2 separate regions of the Homo sapiens genome follow, and region 1 is linked to region 2. Evidence: promoter capture Hi-C in 16 types of primary human blood cells and fetal thymus (Javierre and others, 2016). All regions are on one chromosome and are shown on one strand. Each heading gives the region's core, a stretch centred on a gene start or on the middle of the fragment in contact. The rest is flanking DNA. Distances are from core to core; before and after follow the strand shown. Region 1 overlaps RFWD3 (ring finger and WD repeat domain 3). Region 2 holds the start of NPIPB15 (nuclear pore complex interacting protein family member B15).

Region 1 (7,352 bases), core at 3,200-5,699, 270 kb after region 2:
CAGACCAGCCTGGCCAACACGGTGAAACCCTGTCTCTACTAAAAATACAAAAAAAATTAGCTGGGCATGGTGAAAGGCGCCTGTAATCCCGGCTACTTGGGAGACTGAGGCAGGAGAATTGCTTGAACCTGGGAGGCGGGAAGTTGTAGTGAGCCAAGATTGCACCATTGCAATCCAGCCTGGGCAACAAGAGCAAAACTCCGTCTCCAAAAAAAAAAAAAAAAAAAAAAAAAACCAAAGAAACCAAAAACCAAAACAAAACTTTCTATATCATACTATGTATAATTTACAAATACATATATAGCTAATCAAATACATAATAACTCTTGGGAATGCTGAACACCTAATTCATGAAAGTAGTTCTCTATGGAATTAAGAACTTAGTTCACAGGAAGACTTCTAGTGTACCTTTTTAAATTTGACACAGAGTCTTGCTCTGTTGCCCAGGCTGGAGTGCAGTGGCGCAATCTCAGCTTACAGTAACCTCCGCCTCCCAGGTTCAAGCGATTCTCGTGCCTCAGCCTCCCGAGTTGCTGGCATTACAGGCACGCACCACCACATCCGGATAATTTTTTGTATTTTTAGTAAAGATGGGGTTTTGCCATGCTGCTCAGGCTGGTCTCAAACTCCTGAGCTCAGGCGATCTGCCTGCCTCAGCCTCCCAGAGTGCTAGGATTTCAGGTGTGAGCCACTGTGCCTGGCCCTTCTACTGAATCTATAATTAACTTCTTCTTCTTTAAAATTTTCTTTCCTTTTTTTCCTTCTTGACCTGGTCAACAGATTTATCTTTATTTTTTTGAGACAGGTTCTTACTCTGTCACCCAGGCTAGAGTGCAGTGGCATGACCATAGCTCACTGCAGCCACAACCTCCTGGGCTCAAGAAATCCTCTCTCCTGAGTAGCTGAGACTACAGGTGTGTACCACTACACACGGATAATTTTTTTCATTTTTATTAGAAACAAGGTCTCACAATGTTGCCCATGCTGCTCTCAAACTCCTGGTCTCAAGCAATCCTCCTGCCTCGGCCTTCCAAAGTGCTGGGATTACAGGCATGAGCCACTACACCCAGCCTATTTATTTTCAAAAAGGCTCAAAGCAATATGGCAAAACATTAAGATTTGATAAAATTGGGTAAAAGGCTGTTCGTTTTATTAGTCTGTATCGGCATTTTGAAACTCTTCACTTTTTCTAATGAGGCTGGAGAGTATACTAATTCCTTATTGTAATCAGTGAATTGTTTTTAAATATAATCACCCATTACAGCCACACGTATAGATTTTGCCTTTTCAACAAAATTCCTCTCTGTACACATCTTCCATTATTTAAAAACGCTACAAGTGAGCATTGGTTGGACCAAATGAGTAAAAACAAGGAAGAAAACTAAAATAATCTGTACAGTGACTACCTATAGAGCTTTTTTTCTTTCTTTTAAAAAAAATTTTAAATACAGATAGGATCTATGTTGGCCAGGTTGGTCTTGAACTCCTGGTCTTAAGCAATCCTTTTGCCTTGGCCTCCCAAAGTGCTGGGATTACAAGAGTGAGCCACCGCACCAGCCTTACTTTTTTTCTAGTTCACAAAAATGCAATCATACTAATAACATGCTTCCACAGGACAACATATGCACATTTCAACATTGTATTCTGTTCATGCATACACCACCGTTCATTCAACTAAGCAATCCCCTTGCCTTAGATTTTTAACAATGCTAAATGAAGTTTCATTAAGTAAATCTTGGTACACAGCCTTCAATGTTTCTTTAGAATGCCTGAACAATTACTAGATCAAAGGCTTTAGAGACACATTTCCAAGGATGTCTCAAAATGATTTTGCCTGTGTACATCCAAACCAGTAAAGTGTGAACCCATGTCACTGTACCTCTCTCTCAATGGTGTGTATGTTCTTTAATATTTTTGAAGCATATACTGAGTGGTGTTACTAGCAACTGTTTTTTTTTTTTTTTTTTTTTTTTGAGACGGAGTCTTGCTCTGTCGCCCAGGCTGGAGTGCAGTGGTGCAATTTCGGCTCACTGCAAGCTCTGCCTCACGGGTTCACGCCATTCTCCTGTCTCAGCCTCCTCAGTAGCTGGGATTACAGGCGTCCGCCACTATGCCCGGCTAATTTTTTTGTATTTTTTAGTAGAGACGGGGTTTCACCGTGTTAGCCAGGATGGTCTTGATCTCCTGACCTTGTGATCTGCCCACCTTGGCCTCCCAAAGTGCTGGGATTACAGGCGTGAGCCACCATGCCCGGCCCTAGCAACTGTTTTGTGCTTCCGAAATCCTGGTAATTTTTTACATTGCACTGCATGTGCAAAGCTTCACTTATGAGTTTTCTGTATGGAGAACTGCTGTGGCGGGGGGTGGTCAGGGATATGAGAAGCAAAAATGGCAACAGAAGTAATGTGCCAGATCCTTGTGTTTAATGCTCTACATAAGGCAAACGATGCAGACTTCCTTAAGAAGATGATCAGACATGAATTATAAATAACAGTGTAAGACAGACTGCCAATGATCCCCAGAGATCCCAAGTCACAGGTCAAGTAAAACCTCACTACGAGTGACTCATAACTTCTTTTTCAGATGTGCCTACAATGAACCAAAAGGGAACATTCCAGCCAGGCATACTCTTACCACCTACCTTTTCATGCGCTCCTGTTCACTAGTGTCCAAAGCTCTCAGGGTTCGGGCATAAAGGACGACAATGTCACTGTGCCTGGCTTTCTTGTTGCACTAAAGAACCCAATAGGACATAATTAGAGTGGTTCTAGGAATCTGCCTGACTTAACATGTTAATGTGTCCTTACCTATGGTCCTTACCTGGGGACATTTTCGTACTTGTCCTTTAAGCCACGTGGAAATGCACCTATACCCAAAGAGATGCCCACAGCGTAATGCTGAGAGCCGGTGGTCCCCAGCATTGGTCCACTGTTCCAGACATATTGTACAAGTGTCCCCTTCTTCCTCATCCATAGAAGCAGAAGGTAGCAGAGGCTCAGACTTCTGGGGAGATGGCTAGATGGAAAGCAGAATATATTCAAATTAGAGAAAATGTAAAATCAATCTTGAAGAAGATGTGCAACTAAGAAATTAACAGAAGTGCAAAAAAAATGATACAATCAAAAGGGCTACAGAACACTTGTAACACCTATGAATCACTTGTCATTCTTTCTAGAATGCAATGTCACAAAATATAAGCTATGAAAACTATACTACTCTTAAATCTTATAAAATTCTTGGATACTTTTTCCTTCACTCAAAGGAAGAAAAGCAGCTATCCATATAAAGAATAGCAGCTATAAAATATTTAACTCATGTGTACCAGAGGGCAAAAAAAGAAAACAAAGGATACAAATGCTTACAAGAAAACACAATGGTCAATAAGTGTTTGCTTATAATTAAAGAAATGCAAATTAAAGAGACCATTTTTCATCTATCAGACTGGTATAAATTGATGTCTGATGACACCAAGCACTGTTGTGGGTAAATGAGATATGGACATGCTTATATACTGTTGCCTTAAATGTAAAGTGGCACACATTTCTGGAGCACCATTTGGCATTATCCATGAAAATTAAAACACATATATCTTTCCTTTGGCATAGCAATCTCTCTGCTAGAGATACCTCATGGATATATAGTCATGCATTGCTTGACAATGGGAATACATTCTGAGAAATGCGTCTTTAGGCGATTTCGTCATTGAATGATCCCAGAGGTACTTAAATAAACCTAGACGGTGTAAACTATTACATACTTAGACAACAAACCTGTATAGGATGTTACTGTACCAAATACTGTAGGCAACTGTAGCACAGTGGTGGGTTTCACCATGTTGGCCGGGCTGGTCCCGAACTCCTGACCTCAAGTGATCCGCCCGCCTTGGTCTCCCAAAGTGCTGGGATTATAAGTGTGAGCCACTGCGCCCAGCCTGGTATTATCATCTAATGGGACAACCATCATACATGTGGTCTGTCATAGACTGAACTATTATGCAGCCCATGATCATAGTCACAAATATTTTCTTTTTTTTTTTTTTTTTTTTTTTTTGAGACAGACTCTCGCTCTGTCGCCCAGGCTGGAGTGTAGCGGCAGAATCTCGGCTCACTGCAAGTTCCGCCTCCTGGGTTCACACCATTCTCTTGCCTCAGCCTCCTGAGTAGCTGGGACTACAGGCGCCTGCCACCAAGCCCGATTTTGTGTATTTTTAGTAGAGACGGGGTTTCACCGTGTTAGTTAGGATGGTCTCGATCTCCTGACCTCGCGATCCGTCCGCCTTGGCCTCCCAAAGTGCAGGGATTACAGACGTGAGCCACCATGCCCAGCCAGTCACAAATATATTCTAAGATAATTATATAAGATTGTTCCAAGCAGGCCAGGTGTAGTAATCACACCTACAGTCCCAGCTTATTGGGAGGCCAAGGCAGGAGGATTCCTTGAGCTCAGGAGTTTGAAACCAGACTGGACAACATAGCAAGACCTTGTCCCTGTTAAAAATTTAAAAAATTAGCCATGTGTGGTGGCACATGCCTGCAGTCCCAAGTAGTCAGGAGGCTGAGGTAGAAGCATCACCTGAGCCCGGGATATTGAGGCTGCAGTGAGCTATGATTGTGCCACTGCACTCCAGCATGAGGGACAGAATGAGACCCTGTCTCAAAAAAGTTCAGTGTAGCATGATTTATATAAAGAAAAAAAATATTATTACCCTCCCAAGTAGTTGAGACAACACAGGCGTGTGCCACCATACACCAACCATGCTTTACATGATAAGAAAAAGAATTAATTCGCTGGGCGCAGTGGCTCACACCTGTAATCCTAGCACTTTGGGAGGCCAAGGCAGGCGGATCATGAAGTCAGGAGATCGAGACCATCCTGGCTGACATGGTGAAACCTCGTCTCTACTAAAATACAAAAAATTAGCCAGGCATGACGGCGTGTGCCTGTAGTTCCAGCTACTCGGGAGACTGAGGCAGGGGAATCGCTTGAACTCAGGAGGTGGAAAGAAAAGAATTAACTCAAAATTTATTTGTATGATGGAATGCCACGTAGCTATTAATAAGAACAAGATGAGACCAGGCATGGTGGCTCACGCCTGTAATCCCAGCACTTTGGGAGCCCGAAGCGGGCGGATCACCAGGTCAGGAGATCAAGACCATCCTGGCTAACACGGTGAAACCCCGTCTCAACAACAACAACAACAACAACAACAACAACAAAATTAGCCAGGTGTGGTGGCAGGCGCCTGTAGTCCCAGCTACCGGGAGGCTGAGGCAGGAGAATGGTGTGAACCTGGGAGGCGGAGCCTGCAGTGAGCCGAGATCATGCCACTGCACTCCAGCCTGGGTGACAGAGCGACACTCGTCTCAAAAAAAAAAAAAGATTCAATTTTATGTACTGATAACAGAAAGCTCTCCAAGATGTACTAAGCTGGGAAAAATGAGCCAGACTCAAATAAAAACACAAAGAGCACATAGAAATATGCAAAAAATGTTAAATGATGTTTTGACATTGGAAGAATTCACAGCAGATGTAAATTACTCATACTGAGGACAATGATGTATAGGTGTTATTTTTATTTTTTTTTTGACATGGAGTCTTGGTCTGTTACCCAGGCTGGAGTGCAATGGCACAATCTCGGCTCACCACAACCTCCGCCTCTCAGATTCAAGTGACTCTCCTGCCTCAGCTTCCCGAGTAGCTGGGACTATAGGCACGCACCACCATATCCGGCTAATTTTTGTATTTTTAGTAGAGATGGGGTTTCACCCTGTTGGCCAGGCTGGTCTCAAACTCCTGTGCTCAGGTGACTCACCCACCTTGACTTCCCACAGTGCTGGGATTACAGGTGTGAGCCACTGCGCCCGGCCAACATTATTATTACTATTCTTTGAGATGAAGTCGTGCTCCGTCTCCCAAGCTAGAGCGCAGTGACGCTATTTGGGCTCACTGCAACTTCTGCCTCCCAGGTTCAAGCGATTCTCCTATCTCAGCCTCCTGAGTAGCTGGGATTATATGCGCCTGCCAACATACCCAGCTAATCTTTGCATTTTTACTAGGGATGGGGTTTCGCCATGTTGGCCAGGCTGGTCTTGAACTCCTGACCTCAGGTGATCCGCCCGCCTTGGCCTCCAACAGTGCTGGGATTATAGGCATGGGCCACCGCGCCCAGCCCATTATTTTTAAAAATAAAAATTATCACCTACTAACCATATTCTGCCTGATTTTTTTTTAATTTTAATTTTTTTATTGAGACAGGGTCTCACTCTGCTGCCATGGAGTGCAGTGGTGCAATCATGGCTCACTGAAGCCTTGACCTCCCAGGCTCAAGTAATCCTGTCTCAGACTCCCTAAGTAGCTAGGACTATAGGCGCATGCCACCACACCTGGCGAATGTGCTTAATAATTTATAAAGCACATTTATGTCTATTTTTTCAACTGATACTTAACCTTGTTGGCTAGACAGGACAGGTTATCCTCAATACTCCTCCCTCCCCATTTTTAAATCTAAGAGACAGCAGTCACACAAATAATGAGTAACTGGGATAGGATCCACACCTGGACCTCTTGCCTACAAAGCCTGCAAGCTTCCCATTTTAACCTGCAGCCCCACTTTGGTTAGAGACTAGGTTTCACCATGTTGGCCAGGCTGGTCTCAAACTCCCTACTTCAGGTGATCCACCCGCCTTGGCCTCCCAAAGTGCTGGGATTACAGGTGTAAGCCACCGTGCCCAGCCAAAAACCCAAACCTTTTATTTAAAAGGATATTCAGAGGCCAGGAACGGTGGCTCACACCTATAATCCCAGCACTTTGGGAGGCCGAGGTGGGTGGATCACAAGGTCAGGAGTTTGAGACCAGCCTGGCCAGTATGGTGAAACCCCGTCTCTAACTTAAAAGACAAAAATTAGCTGGGCGGGGTGGCGTGTGCCTGTAGTCCCAGCTGCTCGGGAGGCTGAGGTAGGAGAATTGCTTAAACACGGGAGGCAGAGGTTATTGTGGTGAGCTGAGATCGCACCACCGCACTCCACCCTGGGCAACAGAGTGAGACTCCGTCTCAAAAAAAAAGAAAAAAAAGGGGATATTCAGGTTGGGCATGGTGGCTCATGACTACAATCTCAATGGTTTGGGAGGCCGAGGCAGGACGATACCTTGAGCCCAGGAGTTCGAAACCAACTGGGTAATATAGTGAGACTCTGTCTACAAAAAATAAAAAATGTAGCCGAGTGTGGTGGCATTACCTGTAGTTCCAGCTATTCAGGAGGCTGAAGTGGGAGGATCCTTTGAGCCCAGGAGTTTGAAACTGCAGTGAGTTATGACTGCACCACTGCACTCTAGCCTGGGTGAGAGTGAGACC
Region 2 (7,142 bases), core at 4,641-7,140:
CCTCCCCAGTAGCTGGGACTGTACAGGCGTGCGCCACCACGCTGGGCTAATTTTTGTATTTTTATTAGAGACAGGGTTTCACTATGTTGGCCAGGCTGGTCCCAAACTCCTGACCTCATGATCCGCCCACCTAGGCCTCCCAAAGTGCTGGAATTACAGGTGTGAGCCACCGCGTCCAGCCTATTTTTATTTTTTGAGATTAGCTCTCACTCTGTCACCCAGGCTGGAGCACAGTGGTGCAATCACGGCTCACTGCAGTCTTAACTTCCTGGGCTCTAGCGATTCTCCCACCTCAGCCTCCCGAATAGCTGAGACCTCAGGCGTGTTCCACCGTCCCCAGCTAACTTTTGTATTTTTTGGTAGAGGTGGGGTTTCACTATGTTGCTGAGGCTGGCATTAAACTCCTGACCTCAAGAGATCCACCTGCCTTGGCCTCCCAATGTGCTGGGATTAGAGGCATGAGCCACCACGTCCTGCCCTAAACAGACGTTTTAATTACGCTTGTCAAGTCCTCTTGTGAAATATTCATCTGCAGTGACTTGGTAAATGTGTTTGCTACCACACAGGATAAACAGTGTACAGACAAACATTTGACATACCTATGTTACCACAGTGTAAGAATGAATTTGGATCTGAGGTCGCTAAGATGCAGGCGTTTATCTTACCTCCCTCCAGCACCGGCATGGCTGTGGGGAAGGCCTCCCTCCTCCCTCTGAAGTTCTTGTCGCCATCAGTAGACTGGACATCTGCCTACAACCGACTTCACAGAAAGGACCTGACACCTGGCATGCTTCTCGTGTGCTTGAGAGCCTGTGTTTGTGTGGAAAGCAGGGATGTTCTCATTCACACCATGGGAAGAGAAGAATGTTGCGAGTAACAATCAGTACTTTTTTTTTTTTTTTTTTTTTTTGTGAGACAGAGTCTTGCTTTGTCACCCAGGCTGGAGTACGGTGGCGCGATCTTGGCTCACTGCAAGCTCTGCCTCCCGGGTTCACGCCATTCTCCTGCATCAGCCTCCCGAGCAGCTGGGACTACAGGCGCATGCCACCATGCCCAGCTAATTTTTGTATTTTTAGTAGAGACAGGGTTTCACCATGTTGGCCAGGATGGTCTCGATCTCTTGATCCACTGCGCCCAGCCAGGAACTTCTTTTTTTTTTTTGAGACGGAGTCTCACTGTGTCGCCAGGCTAGACTGCTGTAGTGCGATCTCGGCTCACTGCAACCTCCAACTCCCTGGTTCAAGGGATTCTCCTGCCTCTGCCTCCTGAGTAGCTGGGATTACAGGCGTGTGCCACCACACCCAGCTAAATTTTGTATTTTTAATAGAGATGGGGTTTCACTATGTTGGCCAGGATGGTCTCGATCTCCTGACCTTGTGATCCGCTCGCCTCGGCCTCCCAGAGTGTTGGGATTACAGGCATGAGCCACTACACCCGGCCTGGAACTTCTCTCTCTTTTTTTTTTTTTGAGACGGAGTCTCGCTCAGTCACCCAGGCTGGAGTGCAGTGGCACCATCTCGGCTCGCTGCAAGCTCCGTCTCCTGGGTTCATGCCATTCTCCTGCCTCAGCCTCCCGAGTAGCTGGGACTACAGGCGCCCACCACTATGCCCGGCTAATTTTTTTGTATTTTTAGTAGAGATGGGGTTTCACCGTGTTAGCCAGGATGGTCTCGATCTCCTGACCTCGTGATCTGCCTGCCTCAGCCTCCCAAAGTGCTGGGATTACAGGCGTGGGCCGCGGCACCCGGCCCAGGAACTTCTCTTATATCTAGAAGCCACCGGATGTTAACTAAGAGTCCTGGGAAGAAATGGTAGTCATTTAAAGCTTTTTTAAGAGGGAAGACTTGCACTGGGTCTTAATGAAAATACATAGGACAAAATTTTTCCTTCTGTATCAGCTCACGTAATCTTTCTGGCAATCTCATGAAGTAAATTTTAGCAGATAGAGTAGACACAGATGTAACATGACTTTTCCAAGATCACACACCTAGGAGGAAGGACCAGAAATGGAGCTCTTCCCATGTTGAATATCTGAATCTAATGATCTTTGCACTATGCCATAGGACAGGTGGCCAGGAAAGCATCTGAGACTGGGTGATGTAAGGGCTGGATACAGAGACAGAAAAAAGCAGGCAGTGTAACAGGAAGGAACGCAGCTAGCTATGGTAGATGGGATGTTGTTTTCAATTCCTCATTCCCTATTGCCATGTGACCTTGCAGTGCACGAAATGGGGGGAGTAGGATTCCTGTCCCACTGATGTTGGTTGGCTTCAGTCAAACATTATTATTATTATTTTGAGATGGAGTCTTGCTCTGTCGCTAGGCTGGAGTGCAGTGGCACGATCTCGGCTCACTGCAACCTCTGCCTCCTGGGTTCAAGCAATTCTTCTGCCTCAGCCTCCCGATTAGCTGGTACTACAGGAGCACGCCACCACACCCAGCTAATTTTTGTATATATAAATTTTTTTTAGTTGAGACAGGGTTTCACCATGTTGGCCAGGATGGCCTCAATCTCTTGACCTTGTGATCCGCCCGCCTTGGCCTCCCAACGTGCTGGGATTACAGGCGTGAGCCATTGCACCTGGCCAACCAAACTTATTTTTTAAGGTGGGTAGAAGCCATAGTGTACAGATCTGGAGATTGGCCTTAAGAGGTGTTGAGCATGTCATCAGCCCTTGTCACAAGTTTATGCCCTGAGTAGCTGTTGGATCATGGAAAGTGAAAGGCACTTGAAACAGACCTGAACTCAGCCTGAAGCCAAGCCTGCTGACCCTCAGCCTGAAACAAAGCTGTCCAAGCCTGCTGACCCTCAGTTTGAAACAAAGCTGTCCAAGCCTACTGACTCTCAGTTTGAAACACAGCTGTCCAGCTAGACCATAGTCACCTACAGTCTCATGAGCATGGCACTGAATGCTTTGTTGTAAGGCACTGAGTTTTGGGCTGGTTTACTAGGTAGCCTTTTTTGCAGCTCAAATAAAGGCTGTCTGATAGTGCAATTATATAAGAATGGTGAAATCAGGGCCTACGCCTTCTTAAGGAAATCTTCACTCACTGCAGTCTTGCAAGTCAATGGTCTTATTCTGCTTATCCAACTAATTCTGGAGCAGCTACATCTGGGAACCCCGTAGGCTCACGTCTACAACAGTGTCTTCATCCTGTCTTCTCAATCAGCCCCTTCTATTTCCAGTTCCAGGAATGGCCAACCACACCAGAAACCTGGGACTCACCTGGTCTCCCCACTCGCCTCTCCCTCCACCTCCTGCTCATCACCCAGCCTCAAAGGGTCTGTCTCCTCAGTGCCTCTCCTCTGTTCGGACCTCTCTGTCCCTACCACCGCTGCTGTGGTTGAGAGGGTTGTCAGCCCTGACTTCGAGAACAATCTTTTTTTTTTTTTGAGATGGAGCCTCAGTCTGTCGCCCAGGCTGGAGTGCAGTGGTGCGATCTTGGCTCACTGCAACCTCCGCCTCCCGGGTTGAAGTGATTCTCCTGCCTCAGCCTCCTGAGTAGCTGGGATTACAGGCATGCACCACCATGCCCCGCTAATTTTTGTATGTTTAGTAGAGACTGGGTTTCACCATATTGGTCAGGCTGGTCTCGAACTCCAAACCTTGTGATCCGCCCGCCTCTGAGATCAGAACTGAGATCACGCCACTGCATTCCAACCTGGGCAACAAGAGCTAACTCTGTCTCAAAAAAAAAAAAAAAAGTTTTTAAAGACAGGGTCTCGCTATGTTGCCCATGCTGGTCTTGAATTCCTGGGGTCAAGTGATGCTTCTGCTTTAGCCTCCCAAGGAGCTGGAATCATGGGTGCCCACCACCATGCTCGGCTACTATTTTCTTCAAAATTCAAATATTCTAGCTTAACAGTACCTATTAGATAAATAAATGGCAATTTTCTGGAACATTCTTTTTTTGGTTTTGTTTTGGTTTTTTTTTTTTTTTTTTTTTTTTGAAACGGAGTCTCCCTCTGTCGCCCAGGCTGGAGTGCAGTGGCGCAATCTCGGCTCACTGCCAGCTCCGCTTCCCGAGTTCACGCCATTCTCCTGCCTCAGCCTGCCGAGTAGCTACGACTACAGGTGCCTGCTACCACGCCCGGCTAATTTTTCTGTAGTTTTAGTAGAGACGGGGTTTCACCGTGTTAGCCAGGATGGTCTCGATCTCCTGACCTCGTGATCCACCCGCCTCGGCCTCCCAAAGTGCTGGGATTACAGGCTTGAGCCGTGGCACCCGGCCCAGGAACTTCTCTTATATCTAGAAGCCAGGCTTGGTGACTCTACTTGCTCACCAGATGATCCTACACCTGCCACCTCCGATGGATCCACTGCCTCTGTGCCTGCCTGTACTGCTGATGCTCCAGTGGATAACTCAGCATCCCAGCCTAGGCCCAATGCCACTGAAGATGGACCTGCCCCCTGGAGACCCAGGAGTTCTACCACTCAGCTGTCCCCAGAAGTGCCCAGACCCTCATTCTTATCCAGGACCTAGGAGCCCTACCCCCTGGCCTTCCGTCATCAGCCGTAAATGATGATTTACTGCTGTTACCATCATCACTGCATTTAGTAACCAAGGGCCTTCCAAGGTGCCAGCTCTGGAACGAAGGATGCCTTTGGGAGGTGATGACACTCAGGTACACGGGTGCTCAACAGATTGCTTCCTCCTATCCTCAGATGGTCTTTGCATGCATGCAGCCATTGGCACTCCCATTGTACGCAAGGAAACCAGCCCAGGGTCACACAGCTGGTCAGCAGCAACACAGCTGGTCTCAAATCTAAGGTGCCTGGCCATGCCTCCATGAGGGACCGCCTGCAAGGGAGGTTGATCCTGGCTTTGGGGAGCCTTTCCTGGGCTGCACGAGTAACCTCCAATGTTTGAGGCCCCAAACTCTGCTCACATCTTCCTTTCCCTGTCTCTGCTTGGGCTATGATCACGGTGACTCTAGCAACCCTTCATGGACATTATAGTACTCTCTGCCATTCACTTTTGGTCTAATCTGACTTCAACCCCCACTTACTTGGTCTCTCCTTTTACAACCAACACAACCGAAATCCGAGGGCTTCTTTTTTTTTGAGACAGAGTCTCATTCCATTCTGTCACCCAGGCTGGAGTGCAATGGCACGATCTCGGCTCACTGCAACCTCCACCTCCTGGGTTCAAGGGATTGTCCTGCCTCAGCCTCCTGAGTAGCTGGGATTACAGGCGGGTGCCACCGTGCCTGGCTAATTTTTGTATTTTTAGTAGAGACGGGGTTTCACCATGTTGGTCAGGCTGATCTCGAACTCCTAACCTCGTGATCCGCCTGCCTCAGCCTCCCAAAGTGCTGGGATTACAGGCGTGAGCCACCATGCCCAGCCAAATCTAGGGCTGGAACATGGCTGCAGCATATAAATAGAATTGAATTCCATAGTTTTGTTAACCCTGTTTTTTGTTTGTTTGTAGTTGTTGCTGTTTTTGAGACTGAGTCTCGCTCTGTCGCCTAGGCTGGAGTGCAGTGGTGCAATCTCGGCTCACTGCAGACTCTGCCTCCCGGGTTCAAACTATTCTCCTGCCTCAGCCTCCCAAGTAGGTGGGACTAAGGCGCCCACCACCACACCCGGCTAATTTTTGTATTTTATTAGAGACAGGGTTTCACCATATTGGCCAGGCTGGTCTGGAACTCCTGACCTTGTGATCCACCCACCTCGGCCTCCCAAAGTGCTGGGATTACAGGCGTGAGCCACCACACCCAGCCCCTGTTTTGTTTTTGTTTTGCTTGTTTCTTAGGGTTGTTTTTCTATTTATGGTAAAGGCATTGGCTTTCCATTTGTAGCATCAATAGAATATTTCCTGTTTACAATAACCTTATGTCATAGTAAATGGTAAAGGGATTTAAAGCAGTGGTTTTCAGCTGCCAGAGGCCTGAGTGAGTTTGGGCACACTCTGTGTGATCGGGCAGAAGGCCTGTGGGAAGTTCAGCTGAGGACAGGGCCAGGAAAGGTGATGGACAGTGGGGGTCTGTCCTGGTCACCAGACCCCTGGGTCCTGCCCACCTGCTTGGAGCTCCCCACCCATCACACATGATGCTGCCAAGCCCTCTGGGTATTGTGGGCAAATACCTTAGGAGAGAAGCTGATGAACTTTGTTTCTTGAAATGCACAGATTCCTTGGACGTCCCTGAGAGGTCAATGATGAAGGTCAACTTGGTTTTCTCCCCCTCATTTGGGTTCAGAATTTAAAGTCCACACACACAGGCAGTAAGATGATTATAGATAAGGACATCATCACTCGGTTTCAGATGTTAAAATGTCTAGGTGGGTTAGGGGTGATTTGAGATCACACAACCTTGTGCCACAAAGAGGAATTCCCAGGCCAGGGGGAGACATTTTATTGCCATGTTATGATCTCATCATTGAGTTGAAAGGCAATCTTGTTTCATTTTGGATTCTTTCTTATGTTTATGTCTTATAAGGGCACTTTGAATTTCCAAGCAAATAATAATTTTGAATTAGCTTTTAATCATTGACTTCTAGCACAGTTATATGATCAGAAACATGCTGTGTGATTTGATTGCTCTCAAATATATTGAGATTTGCTGGAACAAAATAAGTCAGGTTAATTTTTGTAAATGTACCATGCATGCTTAAAATGAATGTATCTACATTTGTTCCTGAGATACAGGTTGATGGACGGATGGCTACATGGATGTGATGGAGATGGTTTACTATCGGGACCTTCCGCATCCTGCTGATGTTTTGTTGCTTAGGATATGAATGGCTGAGCGGAGGCTGTAAAACCTGGCACTCTGCTTGGGTATGAAGTTCTTCCTGCCATCCTGCCATCATTTGTTTTTTATGTTTTGTCGCCAAAAGTGACCTTGAGGAACCCTGGGAGCTCAGGAAGGAAGGAGAGCCCAGAAGCAGGGACAGGGAGCTGGTTGGGGAGGACCAGAAATCAGGTTTGTGAAGGTTCCAGAGAGGACCTGTCCTTGCGAGGAGTGTGGGAGACTGAGATGGGGGAGGGGTCATTGGAATGATGCGGGCGCTACTTGGCATTGTCCATTGTGAGGCACCACCGGGGTCATCAGGGATTGGTGGAGAGGGAGTATAAAGCCCCAGGGTTGCTAAGGGAGGGCCCAGACCGAAGAAGGTTTGGTGGATAGCAGAACC

What was found. Contacts are between HindIII fragments. The CHiCAGO score rates a contact against its expected background, and 5 or more counts as called.
Region 1: a fragment that was not itself captured here is called in contact with the fragment with the promoter of NPIPB15 in region 2 in 1 of 17 cell types (total CD8 T cells); the score reaches 5.8 in total CD8 T cells.

The regions. Positions count from the first base shown.
Region 1 is chr16:74,641,721-74,649,072 of GRCh38, forward strand. It overlaps RFWD3 (ring finger and WD repeat domain 3), which reads right to left. Exons shown (of 13, transcript NM_018124.4): 5 at 2,821-3,015; 6 at 2,642-2,733. Among named protein-coding and RNA genes, the nearest start is that of RFWD3, 21 kb to the right of the region's middle. The HindIII fragment of the contact is 4,265 bases long and covers 2,318-6,582 here.
Region 2 is chr16:74,370,416-74,377,557 of GRCh38, forward strand. NPIPB15 (nuclear pore complex interacting protein family member B15) reads left to right here and starts at 5,891. Exons shown (of 8, transcript NM_001306094.2): 1 at 5,891-6,931. The HindIII fragment of the contact is 9,807 bases long and covers 1,824-7,142 here.